Linked DNA regions of Homo sapiens: all the other regions are linked to region 3. The links are contacts of gene promoters, found by promoter capture Hi-C in human tissues and cell types (Jung and others, 2019). All regions are on one chromosome and are shown on one strand. The core of a region is centred on a gene start or on the middle of the fragment in contact, and the rest is flanking DNA. Distances in the headings are between cores, read along the strand shown.

Region 1 (4,659 bases), core at 2,144-4,643, 87 kb before region 3:
GCATGTCTGATCAAAAGATATTTCTGCTGGAGCCACAACTATCAGGCTCTGAGATGGAGAGTCTCCTTTCTCTCCACAGTTAACAGGTGGTTTAGTGGATTGGAGGCATGATTAAGAGTTTAGCTCACGGCCGGGTGCGGTGGCTCACACCTGTAATCCCAGCACTCTGGGAGGCCGAAGCGGACGATCACGAGGTCAGGAGAGAGAGACCATCCTGGCTAACACGGTGAAACCCCGTCTCTACTAAAAATACAAAAAATTAGCCAGGCGTTGTGGTGGGCGCCTGTAGTCCTAGCTACTTGGGAGGCTAAGGCAGGAGAATGGCATGAACGTGGAAGGTGGAGCTTGCAGTGAGCCGAGATCGCGCCACTGCACTCCAGCTTGGGCAACAGAGCAAGACTCCGTCTCAAAACAAACAAAAAGTTTAGCTCACAAAATTTCTAGCTTTCTTTCCCATCCTTGCATCAACCAGAGCCTGCCTTTAACTGGCACCTTAAGCTGACCAGGGCCAATGTCTTCTGTGGAGTCTGCTCAGAATGATTCTCCCTCAGGATATCCTGAACTGGAAGTTGGCACTTAGCAGGCTACCTGATTGCTTTTGGCTAGTCCCACTCCCAGATGCCCAGAGGGGTAGTACAACAGCTCCAAGTATTCACCTACCTGCAGAGGAGATAAAAACAGTCAACCTATCCAAGGTTCTGGATTTTACTGTCAGCCCAGAGTAATTTTAAAGCTTCTATTTAAAATATTTACAGTAGGTAGATGATGCAAATCTCTATACCAGCTGTTGTAAACTGATGGCTCACAGACTGCACCTGGCTTGCAGATGTGTTTTATTTGGCTTGGATGGTATTTTGTTTTTTAAATTTTGAATTGGTTGCTAGCACTTAAAATTTAAGAAATATCGGCGGGGTGCAGTGGCTCACCCCTGTAATCCCAGCACTTTGGGAGGCTGAGGCGGGTAGATCACCAGTTCAAGACTAGCCTGGCCAAGATGGTGAAATCCTGCCTCTACTAAAAATACAAAAATATTAGCCAGGCATGGTGGCAGGCACCTGTAATCCCAGCTACTCGGCAGGCTGAGGCAGAGAATTGCTTGAACCCGGGAGGCAGAGGTTGCAGTGAGTCAAGATTGCACTCCAGCCTGGGTGACCGAGCGAGACTCCATCTCAAAAAAAAAAAAAAAAATTTAAGAAATATCACACAAAATGTCAGGTATCCAGGTTCTCTGGAGAAATGGGTTTACATTCCTGCCTGGCAACACTGATAGGGTAGCAGCCATGCTCCTCCTGCTTTGAATGGGCACAGACTGAGGGCAGACCCTAATGGCGTTTGAATCATGTCATAGGCAAAGATGTGACAGAAACATCTGGGCTAAGGCCACACATGATAACTAAGTTGTCACAATAAGATTCGTTTTGGGAGGCCGAGGTGGGTGGATCACCTGAGGTCGGGAGATCGAGACCATCCTGGCTAACACAGTGAAACCCTGTCTCTACTAAAAATACAAAAAATTAGCCAGGCGTGCTGGTGCATGCCTGTAATCCCAGCTACTGGGGAGCCTGAGCAGGAGAATCGCTTGAACCCGGGAGGTGGAGGTTGCGGTGAGCCGAGATTGCACCATTGCACTCCAGCCTGGGCAACAAGAGCGAAACTCCGTCTCAAAAAAAAAAAAAAAAAAAAAGGATTCTTTTAGGAAAGGACTGGTTTTTTTGTGGTACCCAGCCCAAAGCTAGACCTAACAAATATTTATTCATGGTATGAATACTAGAAAGTTGGAGTCGATTACAGGATCTGGCAGGGTCTTAACTGTGGCTTTGAGAAACACTGAATGCCAGCTGCCCCTTTAGGGAGATCTTGAGCTCCAGATTTCCACCTACTTTAAACCTCCCGCATGCCCCCAATCCTGTTTTGCTTGTTCCTGTTACTAACTGCCCCCTAGAGGTGAGTATGACCCTGGACCCTACTGCCACCTTAATGCCACCATCTGTATGCACTTCATCCTTTTCAAAGTGCCTTCACATAGCATCTTTGGTCCTCATGCTTCCTGCTTCATTCCTAAGGTTACTGTGAGACTATCTGTTAAACCATTCTGGGCAGCACGTACCTGGGGGGGCCACAAAGTACTCCTCCACGACGCGATGGGAGTTTTGTAGTAATTCATCAGCACAGTTGCCTTCTACCACATTGTCGGATCTCAGGTATAGACATCTACAAAACCCAGAAGCTCAAGGTTACCCTCTCAGAGAAGGGGGCTTTTAGGGGATGATGGAGAGGGGCAAGAAGGAGAGAACAAGGAAGCAGTATATTCTTGAGTTAATGGGCACTGTTCAAAGATAGAGAAGCTGGGATCAACAGTAGACCAAATAACAGCCTACAGTTTATAGATTGACCGAACAACCCTGAGAAGTAAGTGCTAATTACTTCTCTGGATTGATTTAACAAATAGTTTTTGATGATTATATGGGCAACTGTCTTTTGGTGGGGACAGGTAAAAGCAATTACAAAAACAATATTTTAAATCTAACAGAGGTTAGTACAGCCTGCCAAAGGATAGAAAGGGTACCTAGTCCAGCCTGCGTGAGTAGCACATCCTCAGAATAGCTGATGTCACTGTTCAAGGATGGGCAAGAAATAGCTGGATTGGGGGATGAAGGTATGAGAAATGGACTTCCTGGCACGTATAGCAGCATGAATCCCAAAGCAATAGAGCCGAGAGCTCAGAGATTCAGAGAAGGACAGGGAGTTTAGCAGGCTGGGGTGTGGTCTGCCGGGGTGGAAGATGAAGCTGGAAAGCTAAGCAGAGATGGGGAAGCAAACTTGCCACAAGAGTAACTTAAGGATGTTGGCTGCTAAGTAACAACTGGGATCTCAGCCCAATCTGATACACCTAAAATGAATGCTTTTTCCACCACAGCCACTTTGGTGGATGTGCCTGCCCTTGAGCAAGATGTGCCACCAACAGCTCAAGAATCTCCCAGTGTTCTGTGGGACCTAGTGACTTTACTAAAGCCTTCAGATGGCAAACCGGTAAAAAACACACAAGAGCTTGAACATTTGCATGAGGCTTCACTATTGTTTCAAGGTGTAAAAGTGTGTAAGCCTGCTTCCAGATACTTAGATTAAAAAAATAAGCAGTCTGTTAAATCACTGATATGGTATTCGGTAGTAGCCACGCTCCTCCTGCTTTGAGTGGGCACAGACTGAGGGCAGACCCTAATGGCGTTTGAGTCATGTCAGAGAGGGACAAAGATGTGACAGGTACATCTGGGCTAAGGCTGCACATAAGAACTAAGTTGTCAGCCGGGCGCGGTGGCTCACGCCTGTAATCCCAGCACTTTGGGAGGCCGAGGTGGGCGGATCACGAGGTCAGGAGATCGAGACCATCCTGGCTAACACGGTGAAACCCCATCTCTACTAAAAATACAAAAAAATTAGCCGGGCGTGGTGGTGGGCGCCTGTAGACCCAGCTACTTGGGAGGCTGAGGCAGGAGAATGGCGTGAACCCGGGAGGCGGAGCTTGCAGTGAGCCGAGATCGCGCCACTGCACTCCAGCCTGGGCGACAGAGCGATACTCTGCCTCAAAAAAAAAGAGAACTAAGTTGTCACAATAAGATTATTTTAGGAAAGGACTAGTTCTTTTTTTGTGGCACCCAGCCCAAAGCTAGACACAACAAATATTTACTCATGGTATGAATATTAGAAAGTTGAAGTCTGTTACAGGACCTGGCACATTCTTAACTGTGTGGCCTTGAACAAGTATGATCTTTTCAGACATTAAATTTCTTGGAGGGGGGCGGCGGGGTGTGGGGGAGAAAGGCCAGGTGTGGTGGCTCTTGCATGTAATCCCAGCACTTTGGAAGGCTAAGGCGGGTGGATCACCTGAATTCAGGAGTTCAAGACCAGCCTGGGCAACGTGGGGAAACCACATCTCTACTAAAAATACAAAAACTAGCCAAGCGTGGTGGCACGCACGTGTGATCCCAACTACTCGGGAGGCTGAGGCGGGAGAATCGCCTGAACCCAGGAGGCGGAGGTTGCAGTGAGCTGAGATGGCACCACTGCACTCAAGCCTGGGCGACAGAGCAAGAAGAAAAAAAAAAAGGCCAGGCACAGTGGCTCAAGCCTGTAATCCCAGCACTTTGGGAGGCCAAAGCAGGTGGATCACCTGAGGTCAGGAGTTCGAGACCATCCAATATGGTGAAACCCTGTCTCTACTAAAAATATAAAAGTTAGCCGGGCATGGTGGTACATACCTGTAATCCCAGCTACCTGGGAGGCTGAGGCACAAGAATCACTTGAATGTAGGAAGCAGAGTTTGTAGTGAGCGGAGATCACACCACTGCACTCCAACCTGGGTGACAGAGTGAGACAGTGTCTCACACACACACACACAAAAGAGAGTTGTACTAGATTTTTTTTTTTTTTTGAATAACACAAGGACTGTATTCATTTAAGAAAACTTGGGAGAACAAAAGTAAAATAAAAATCATAATTATACTATTCAAAGGTAACCCTTGGACTTTCTGGAGTTTATAGTTTCTGTTGGACAGTATTAAAAAATGGCTAAGAGGCCGGGCGCGGTGCCTCATGCCTGTGATCCCAGCACTTTGGGAGACTGAGGCGGGCAGATCACGAGGTCAGGAGATCAAGACCATC
Region 2 (4,345 bases), core at 272-2,771, 110 kb before region 3:
CCACTGGGCATGTGTTAGCATGGGGGATGTGTAGCCTAGAAGCTTCCTGGCTTTCAGTTATTATTATTTTTTTTTAACTTAAAAAAAAAAAACTCCAGATAATTCCCATACTTGTTTTTTACCTTTAAGGAATGTATTTGCCTTGGAGGTGCCATTACTGAATTATATTGACGCAGTTCATTAAAAATCTGCTTAGTATAAAACTGACTTGGGTCTAAAAAAATTAGGATTCTACTAAATAAATGCATCCTTTTTTGTTGCATTGAAAAACATTCTTAGTACTGTTATTAATCTTTTCACACCCCCCTACCCTTTGCTTGTGTTTCTGATTTACTCTGCTGTGAAGAAAGTTTTCAAGGTTTGTTACAGTGGAAAATGTTTTGGAAAAAGTTCTGGGTTGAGGGTAAGGAATTTAGAGCTTAGGAAATGAAATTTGGTGAACCTGATGAGCTCATTTGCCATTTTGTACCTCAGTTCCACTTTTCTGGAGCTAGAATAACTGTTCTTTATATACTAGTTAATAAAATCAACAGGTGTTTACTAAGCACTTACTATGTGCCAGTACCATAGGGCTGTAAAGGGAAGTGATTGGTCTCAGTGTTTCTTGGCCTTTTTTGGGGGAATGGGGGAGTACAGCTTATAGACCTTTGAGAATGATAAATTCCTACGCTGTCCTGTATGGTAGCCACTAGCCACATTTGGCTATTACAATTAAAGTTAATTATTGTTAAATATAATTTAAGAAGTTGGTTTCTCAGTTGCAGTAGCCACATTTTAAGTGCTCAATAGCTACATGTAACCAATGGCTACCACATAGAACTCAAATATAGAATGTTTTCATCATCCTAGAAAGTTCTGTGGGACAGTGCTACATGGAGATTCTCCCCAGAATAAAAACACTTTTCTGCCCACATACAATATTTTGCATACAACTGTTACAACTTTGCAGGATCAGGGTCAGGAGGTGGAGGTTGAGGGGGCAGGGAGGCAGGAGTTCACTGATCCCAGAAGCCCATTAATCCAAGAAAAGGAAGCCCTGATATAAAAAGCTGTTTGAAGACTCCATCACAGAATTTAACAAGTTAGTAAAAATAAAGCAACCGAGCTGCTACAAATACAGTATGTTCACTTGAAGTAACTTCATATAAAATCAAGCCCTTGTGTTCCCACCTGTTTGGGCATATTCAAAGAAAACACCAGTTCATTATCTAAAAGTTATTGAAAAATAATGTTAAAGATTTTTTGCAGTCTCTGAAAAAAACACCAGAGGGGAATTATATTCACAATATACTGCAAATCTTGAATTATCTTTCCCATTTTTCTCTTCTCATCCTCCCACACTTGACACTTGCTTTCCTAAAGCTCACCCCCAATTCCAAACTCTCTTCCAAACCTCCTAGTTCTGCTGCTGTTTCTCTTCTTCCTCCCCTGCATGGCTCAGTTCTTTATTATGTAGCTTTCCAGAATATGTTTTATTTTACTCCATCACACAAGTACAGTGGTAGAGAATGACAGAGAAAGCTCCCAGGGTGCTGTGACCAGGAACACGTTTCCCAGTGACTCATTCCATAGCTCTCCTGCCAGGCGGGACCAGTTCCTCATCTTCTCAGATGGTCTACTCCCCCATCACTTCCTCTCTGCCCACTGATACCTAGGGCCAAGGTCTGGGAGGAGCTCATGACTGAGCCTGACAGAGAGGAAAATATTTTGCTGGGATGCCAGAGGGGACTGATGTCACAGAGAAAAGGAGAAAACCAGATGGGCAGGTTTGCAGCATGTTTTATGCCTGGCGTTGTTGGTTTTTTGTTTGTTTTAAATTTTTATTTCAATAGGTTTTTGGGGAACAGGTGGTGTTTGGTTATATGGATAAGTTCTTTAAGTTATTTAGTGGTGATTTCTGAGATTTTCATGCACTCATCACCCGAGCTGTTGTTGGTTTTGGGATTTTTTTTTTTTTTTATGTTGTTTTTTTCAGTTGGGCACTGCCCTACACTCTGGTGGAGAATAAATGGCTTGCTGTGGGAACTGCATTAATTCTTAATAGTCTGCCAACATCAAAGGCTTCTTTTCAGTTTGGTGAAAAGAAGGACAAGCCCATTTCTGTAACAGGATCTCACTCTGTCGCCCAGGCTGGAGTGCAGCGGTGCAATATTGGCTCACTGCAACCTCTGCCTCCTGGGCTTAAGTGATTCTCCCCCCTCAGCCTCCCAAGTAGCTGGGACTATGGGTGTGTGCCACCATGCCCAGCTAATTTTTGTATTTTTTGTAGAGACGGGGTTTTAACATGTTGCCCAGGCTGGTGGTGCCTCAGCTCCTTCTCTCTTCTTCCCTGCTTGAACTCCTTGCCCCAGTCACACCAGTAGGGATTTTCCCTGGTCTGCTACTCTCTCTCCTATTTGGGTGATTTCTCATGGTGTCCTTTTTTATGTTTTGAGACAGAGTCTCACTCTGTTGCCCAGGCTGGAGTGCAGTGGTGCAATCATGGCTAACTACAGCTTCAACCTCCCAGGCTCAAGCAGTCCTCCCACCTCAGCCTCTTAAGTAGCTGGGACTGTCAGGTGCCGTGGCTAATGCCTGTAATCCCAGCACTTTGGGAGGCCGAGATGGGCGGATCACTTGAGCTCAAGAGTTCGAGATCAAGTAGCTGAGACCACAGGTGCACGTTACCATGCCTAGATAATTTTTTAATTTTTTTTTTTTTTTTTTTTTGAGACAGAGTCTCGGTGTTGACCAGGCTGGAGTTCAGTGGCGCAATCTCGGCTCACTGCAACCTCTGCCTCCCGGGTTCAAGCAATTCTCCTGCCTCAGCCTCCAAAGTAGCTGGGATTACAGGTGTGCGCCACCACCTCCGACTAATTTTTGTGTTTTTAGTAAAGATGAGGTTTTGCCATGTTGACCAGGCTGGTCTCGAACTCCTGACTTCAAGTGATCCACCCACCTTGACCTCCCCAAAGTGCTGGGATTACAGGCATGAGCCACTGGGCCTGGCAATTTTTAAGTTTTTTGTAGAGATAGGGGTCTCACTACATTGCCTAGCCTGGTCTCAAACTCCTGGACTCAAGCCATCCTCCTGCCTCAGCCTCCCAAAGTGCTGGGATTACTGCCACTGCACTCAGCAGTCATGCCCTCATTTTTGTCTGAAATGCCCTTCCCTCTTCCCCCTGGTTAACTCCTACTGGTTCTTCAAGACTCTAAACATCTCCTCCCAGAAGCCTTCCTTAGAATCTCTAAGACTGTGGTAGGTGACCCTCCGATGTAGTCTCAAGCAGCTTATCCTTATCACAACTGTACTCTACATGACCGAATAGCAACCTATATACACAACTCAAGGACAGAGCTGTATTATTGCATGCCCTGGGCCTCATACAGGACCTAAATCATAAATAATGTTGAATATCTAGATGAACAAAAAGTTTAAAAGGTGTCCCTGCCTAGAGTCTCTGGCCTTAGCAGAGAATGGAACCTATGAACCCTTTGAACATGAAGTCATAATTGTGGTCTCATTTGTGTTCTAACTGCAAAGGTCAGTACAGGAATAAAGGGGGTTTCATGGATGATCATAAATGCCTCCTAAGGATTTAGCTGTGCTCTATCTAATCCAAGAAGCCTGTACTAACCACATCCCTACATTTTCTGCTGGGTAACTGAACTCCTTTGGAGATTGTATGCTGCAGGACATTGCACAATTAAAGCTGAATTATTATTATTTGCAAGCAGTTTTCCACCTACAGTCCTATTGAGTCACTTAGCTGACTCTATTTCTCTCTCCCTAGGAGACTGCCCAATTGTCTCCAACAGCACTTTTTTTTCCTTTTTTGTCTTTCCAGGCAACAATCACATAGGAGTGGTAGGACTCAGAGAATGGTATTAATACACCTAAGCACACCACCCAAAATGAGAAGGCATCTGGACTTTCGGATGCCTATAGGATATGTAAGCTCCTATAAGGCTGCACACTTAGACTCGAGATCATATTTGGCCAGGGCTCTTTCCTGCTTGTCTAGAGAACAGCTAGATGCTTTACATAATCCAGAATACAACAGATAGTTATAATGGTTTTATTTTAGGAATCATTTATTATGTTTTATTCCAATTATAAAAGTAGTGCATGCTAATTACAATTTGAGAAATACAGAAAAGCATAAATAAAAACATAGAAATCACTGCCATCAAGAGATATCTCCACAACCACAACATTTGGAAAGCTTTTTCTATTTTTTTTTTGTTACAAGCAGCAAATACACTATATATGTGTATACATTAAACACCACTTTCAATTCACTTTAACTGTAAATTACTGTGACTTTAATATCTCTGTCATATTAAAAACATGACTTAATAATTG
Region 3 (4,610 bases), core at 696-3,195:
CCAGTCCCCAGTCCAGGGGATGCTGAGAAACTGTGGGGCAGAGTAGGGGACACAAACAGGAAAAAGCAAGTTTGTTTCTAGTGTTATGCTCACAGGGTGGCAGGATATACCTGCTGAGCATTCCCAGAAGGTCCCCAAGGAAACCATTACTGTAAGTCTCTCACTTTCTTCTCTGCCTGATGGTTGGGGTGGGGAGAGGGAAGGAGGGCTATCAAGAGGGGGATGGGCACCCTTCCAGAGGTCAGAGTTATGATGCCCAGGAATAAAAGGTGTTGAATTCAGGATGGAATGTGAAGGTGAACAGCAAAGGGCTTGTCAACATGGGTTGTCACTGGATTACACCGGATGGATTAAGGTAGGGATGGGGGAAGGAGTAGAAGGTGAGTTGGGAGGGAGGGGCTTGTGTGGCACTGAGACCCCCAGCAGGGATGGGGAGAAGGGGTGTTGGCCACCTAAGCTTCCTGGTTTGATCCTTTTTTGGCTGGTTTCAGCTGGGGAAGTGAAGGGTCCTAAGGCTTGGATATGGAGAGGTGGGAATATGGAGAGGTGGGGATATGGAGAGGCGGGGATAAGGAGAGGTGGGGATAAGGAGAGTGGCCCCGCAGCTCCCCTGGTGAACCAGAATACTTTCTCAGGGTTGTTCCCAGGCTGGAGGGAGGGAATTTTAGGGGTACGTAAGGTGACTCCAAGGAGCCTTGGGTGCAAGTACTGGGGGATCCCAGAGACCCAGAAGATGGGGGTAGAAAGGAAGGTGTTTGCCTTCACGGGGAGTAGCCTCAAAATAAGAGGGACTGAGGGAAGTCATTCCAAATGCAGTGGGTAGGTAGTTTAGGCTCTTCCAATGGGATGGGGTGGAGCTTAGACCTCTGCAAAAGAAGGGGGTCATTCGGAGGGGACGGTGCACAGCTGAGGCGTTGGGCTCCTAAACTGGAAACAGGAGGCTCTAAGAGGCACTGCCTTTTCCTCCAGCCTCGGTGTGGTGGGGGTGGTGAGTGTCTGGAACCGGGTTTCCCGAATCAGGACAGGAGTCTGAATGGATCTCACAAAAACCGGCCAGGGAGGGAGAGAACCAGGGGAGACTCCTCACACCGGGAGGTGGGGGTGGCGGCAAACTGAGAACCCGGGCTTGGGGCGCGGGATTTTCTCAACAGACCATAGGGTCCACTAATGTGGACGGCAGGGATTTGGGGAAACTAAGGGGGACTCTCACTTTGGACACCAAGGGCTGAGGACGGATTGGGGAAGAGGATACGGTTTCTACTGGGGTGCTGATGGAGGTTCCCCACTCGGGACGCGAGGCACTGAGTGGGTCCCCCAAACTGGATATGGGATCCTGGGAACGGAGCGAGGGCTCTAAATTAGAGCCCTGGGGTGGGGGTGGGGGGCTGTAAATTAGGTTGGGAGGAAACTGGGGGCTCTGAGGGCGGCTTCTCGCTCCGACTGGGGAAATGGAGCATGTGGGGACTGGGGAGCACTAGGGCTATCTCCCGCCCGACCCGAGGAGATTGGGGTTCTCTTCAATTCTGGACAGCAGGGACCTGAGAGGGAAGACCGGGGGGGTTCCCGATCCGGAACCGAGCTACCTTGAAGGCACCGGGAAGCGCTTCATTCCGGGAGGGCGTTCCCGCGGCCGGGCCCCCGCGCCGGGGTGGGTGGGGGGTGCGGCCGCGCCCTGGTCCCGGCCCGCACCGGGATTCGGGGGTCTCGCTCGGCCCCGGAGACCCAGGAGCCCCGCGGGAAGGGGGTCCCGGCGCCGCCGCCTCCGCGGGCGCCCGGGCTCGCGGGCGAGCGCGGGGCTTTATGCGCGCAGGGCGGCGGGGGGAGGAGCCGGCAGGTCGGCCCCCGGCGGGCCCTCCCCTCGGCCGTCCCCGCCCGCCCGCCCGAGCGGGGTCGGGGGAGGGGGCAGCATGGCCTGTCCGTCCGGCCCCCTTCGCCGCGCTCCTCATCTGCCCCGCGCCGAGCGCCGCCGCCGCCGCCGCCGCCGCCGCTCCGCTGCCCGCGCCGCCCGCGGCTCCCGATGGAGACTGACGCGCCCCAGCCCGGCCTCGCCTCCCCGGACTCGCCGCACGACCCCTGGTACGGCCCGGCCCGGCCTGCTTGGCCCGCGCCCGCCCCGGCCCCGCCAACATGGCCGATCCGGGTCCGGCCGGGCCTCCCCGGAGCCCGGGCCCGCGCCCCCTGCGCCCTGGCGCCCGGCGCTCACGCGGGCCCTTTGTGTCTCTCCTCCTCCCGCAGCAAGATGTTCATCGGGGGACTCAGTTGGCAGACTACGCAGGGTGAGCGAGCCCGGGAGCGCCCGCCGGTCCGGCAGGGCACCCCGGACCCCCCGGCGCCCCGGACCCGGACACCCCAGCCCGGCCCTGCGCCCTGCTGACCCCGGGCGCCCTCGCGCCCTCTTTCGCGCCCCGCCCGGAGACCCCGAGAGCGCAGGGCGATCCGCGAGCGCACCCGGCCCAGCGGGTGGAGGGGAGCAGATGAGGGGTTCAGGGGGTATCGGGGGGTGGGCTGGGCCCCCGGGACCCGCCGGCGGCAGCGCCAACTCCGCTCGCACCTGCGGCTCAAACTTTTGTGAGGCTGCTCCCGGAGCGGCGGGAACCCGGCCGGAGCCGTCCCCCTTCCAGCCCAGCTCGGCCCTCGGCTTCCCGGGGCCCCGGTGGGCGCCAGGAGGCTCAGCGGGAACGGGGCGAGGGCGGTGGGGGGCGGCGGCAGTGGAGAACGCGCGGGCAGCTTGGCGCGGGGGCGGCCGGGCCGCTCCGGGGTCACCGGGGGCAAAGGACGGGGGGGGGGGAAGGGCGCGGGGCCCGGGCTGGTCCGAAGGCGGGTGTGTGGTTACAGAAGGGCTGCGCGAATACTTCGGCCAGTTCGGGGAGGTGAAGGAGTGTCTGGTGATGCGGGACCCCCTGACCAAGAGATCCAGGTGAGCCCCTCACCCCCTCCTCCTGCTCCCGGCTCGCCCCCCTCCACCCGCCACTCACTGCCTTGTAACCATCTGCCTCTCCCTCACTACGGCGCGCAGGGGTTTCGGCTTCGTCACTTTCATGGACCAGGCGGGGGTGGATAAAGTGCTGGCGCAATCGCGGCACGAGCTCGACTCCAAAACAGTGAGTGGCCCTCGGGGCTTCGGGGGTCCTTTGGGAGAGGGAGGCTGCCGGAGGAGAGGGTCAGGACTCTCCCCAGGGGACAGCTGGACGGGGTCCATGAGGAAGGAGGGAGTTTTTCTGAGTAAGAGGGCTGCCATGCTCTGAAACTTTGTCACTAGAGTTGGGGGGGAGAGGGAGGAGAAAAATCCCTGGCCTGCCATGAGATGCTACATCCCCCCTCCCCTAGTCCTGGTGAGGGGAGAGGCAGCCGCCACCCTCTCCCTAGAAGTACTAATCATGATGCCTCAGAGCAGAGCTTGGGGTGGGGCTAGGTCCCTCCCCCAGCCCAAATTGGGTGAGTCAGGGTAGCACTGACCCACCCGGTGGCTTCTGTGAACTCTAACTAGTATTTGGCTCTGCGACACCCCCTCTTCATCCAGACCAATGGCAAAGCATCCCTTGAAGCCCCCTCCCTCTCTCCTTCCCTCCTCCCCCGACTTTTGGTCAATGAGCTCCTTGCTTTGTGTGGAAGACAGGGACCTGCTTTGCCCACGGAGGGGATTTATGAGAAAGGCTCTAGCTTGCCTGGAAACGACCCTTCGGAAGACTAGATCTTAGGAGAAGCTGCTTGGTTGGCATTCAAACTCATGGAACATTTTGCTGTTGTCCCACAGCTCCTTCGTGTCTTAGACCCTGCAGGGGGCGCTGGCTCCAGGGCAGATGGAAAAGTAGAAAAGTCAGAGGAGGGGGTTACTCCCATGTGATGGGGGTGTCTGTCTGCTGGGGGCAGGGATAGTGTGGATCTCTTCTCTCCATGCTTCCCTGCTGTCCCCCAGCCTTGGGCCTCTCTGCTTGGGTCAGTCCCTGGCTCCCGTTTACCTGCAACAATAGCTGCTTGTGCCCAAGAATTTGTCAAATTACCGCCTGTCCCCAGCTCCTGTTATCTCTGCCCAGTGGCTCCCGCTCCCGCTCGCAGTAATGAGCAAATGAGGCCAGGCCTCAACTTTGCCGGCTCTGAAAGGATCTTCTTGGCGCAGCCTGAGTGACCCAAGCCTGGAAATGGAGAGACAGTGGCCTATTGTTTTTGGTGATTATCTGCCATCAAGCTGCCTGTTCTGCTACCATCCCCTGTCCTCAGAATGCACTGATGGCTTCTGCAGTGCTGAGGAAGCTGAGATTTAGGGGCTGGGGGATGGAGGAGTGGAAGATTGATAAAGGGGAAGAGAATGAGGGAGGAAGGAGGGTGAGATGAGCATCCTTAGGAGATGGGGCTGAAAAGGGCCAGGGCTTTGTCTGTGTTTGGCGTCCTCCAGCCTGGGAAAGGGGGTGGGAGGGAGGTTTACTGTGGGGAGTCTATTTTGAGCTCTGACTTTCACCTTTTATTTACTTGTTGGGTTTTATTTATGTTGCCAGCTGTGAGTCACAGTGGAGGTGGGGTGTGTCAGGGATGGGGTGTGCGTGGGTCTGTGGGATCGTGGCTTGGGTACCATCTCCCCATCGGGGTCTGTGTAGGGGGACTGTGTGTGGTGC

What was found. The method cuts DNA at HindIII sites, captures the fragments that hold promoters and counts their contacts. A contact is called where the count stands out against the background at its distance.
Region 1: a fragment that was not itself captured here is called in contact with the fragment with the promoter of MSI1 in region 3 in 4 of the 25 tissues and cell types used here (H1 embryonic stem cells, liver, mesenchymal stem cells and 1 more).
Region 2: a contact is called between a fragment that was not itself captured here and the fragment with the promoter of MSI1 in region 3, in 4 of the 25 tissues and cell types used here (H1 embryonic stem cells, dorsolateral prefrontal cortex, heart left ventricle and 1 more).

What each region holds. Positions count from the first base shown.
Region 1 is chr12:120,454,628-120,459,286 of GRCh38, reverse strand. GATC (glutamyl-tRNA amidotransferase subunit C) reads right to left here. Exons shown (of 4, transcript NM_176818.3): 3 at 2,108-2,211. Among named protein-coding and RNA genes, the nearest start is that of GATC, 11 kb to the right of the region's middle. The HindIII fragment of the contact is 8,224 bases long and covers 1-4,659 here.
Region 2 is chr12:120,472,057-120,476,401 of GRCh38, reverse strand. It overlaps a transcript of DYNLL1 not described here. Among named protein-coding and RNA genes, the nearest start is that of SRSF9, 4.5 kb to the right of the region's middle. The HindIII fragment of the contact is 6,330 bases long and covers 1-4,345 here.
Region 3 is chr12:120,366,499-120,371,108 of GRCh38, reverse strand. MSI1 (musashi RNA binding protein 1) reads left to right here and starts at 1,945. Exons shown (of 15, transcript NM_002442.4): 1 at 1,945-2,076; 2 at 2,236-2,276; 3 at 2,836-2,917; 4 at 3,017-3,101. The coding sequence starts at 2,018. The HindIII fragment of the contact is 19,353 bases long and covers 1-4,610 here.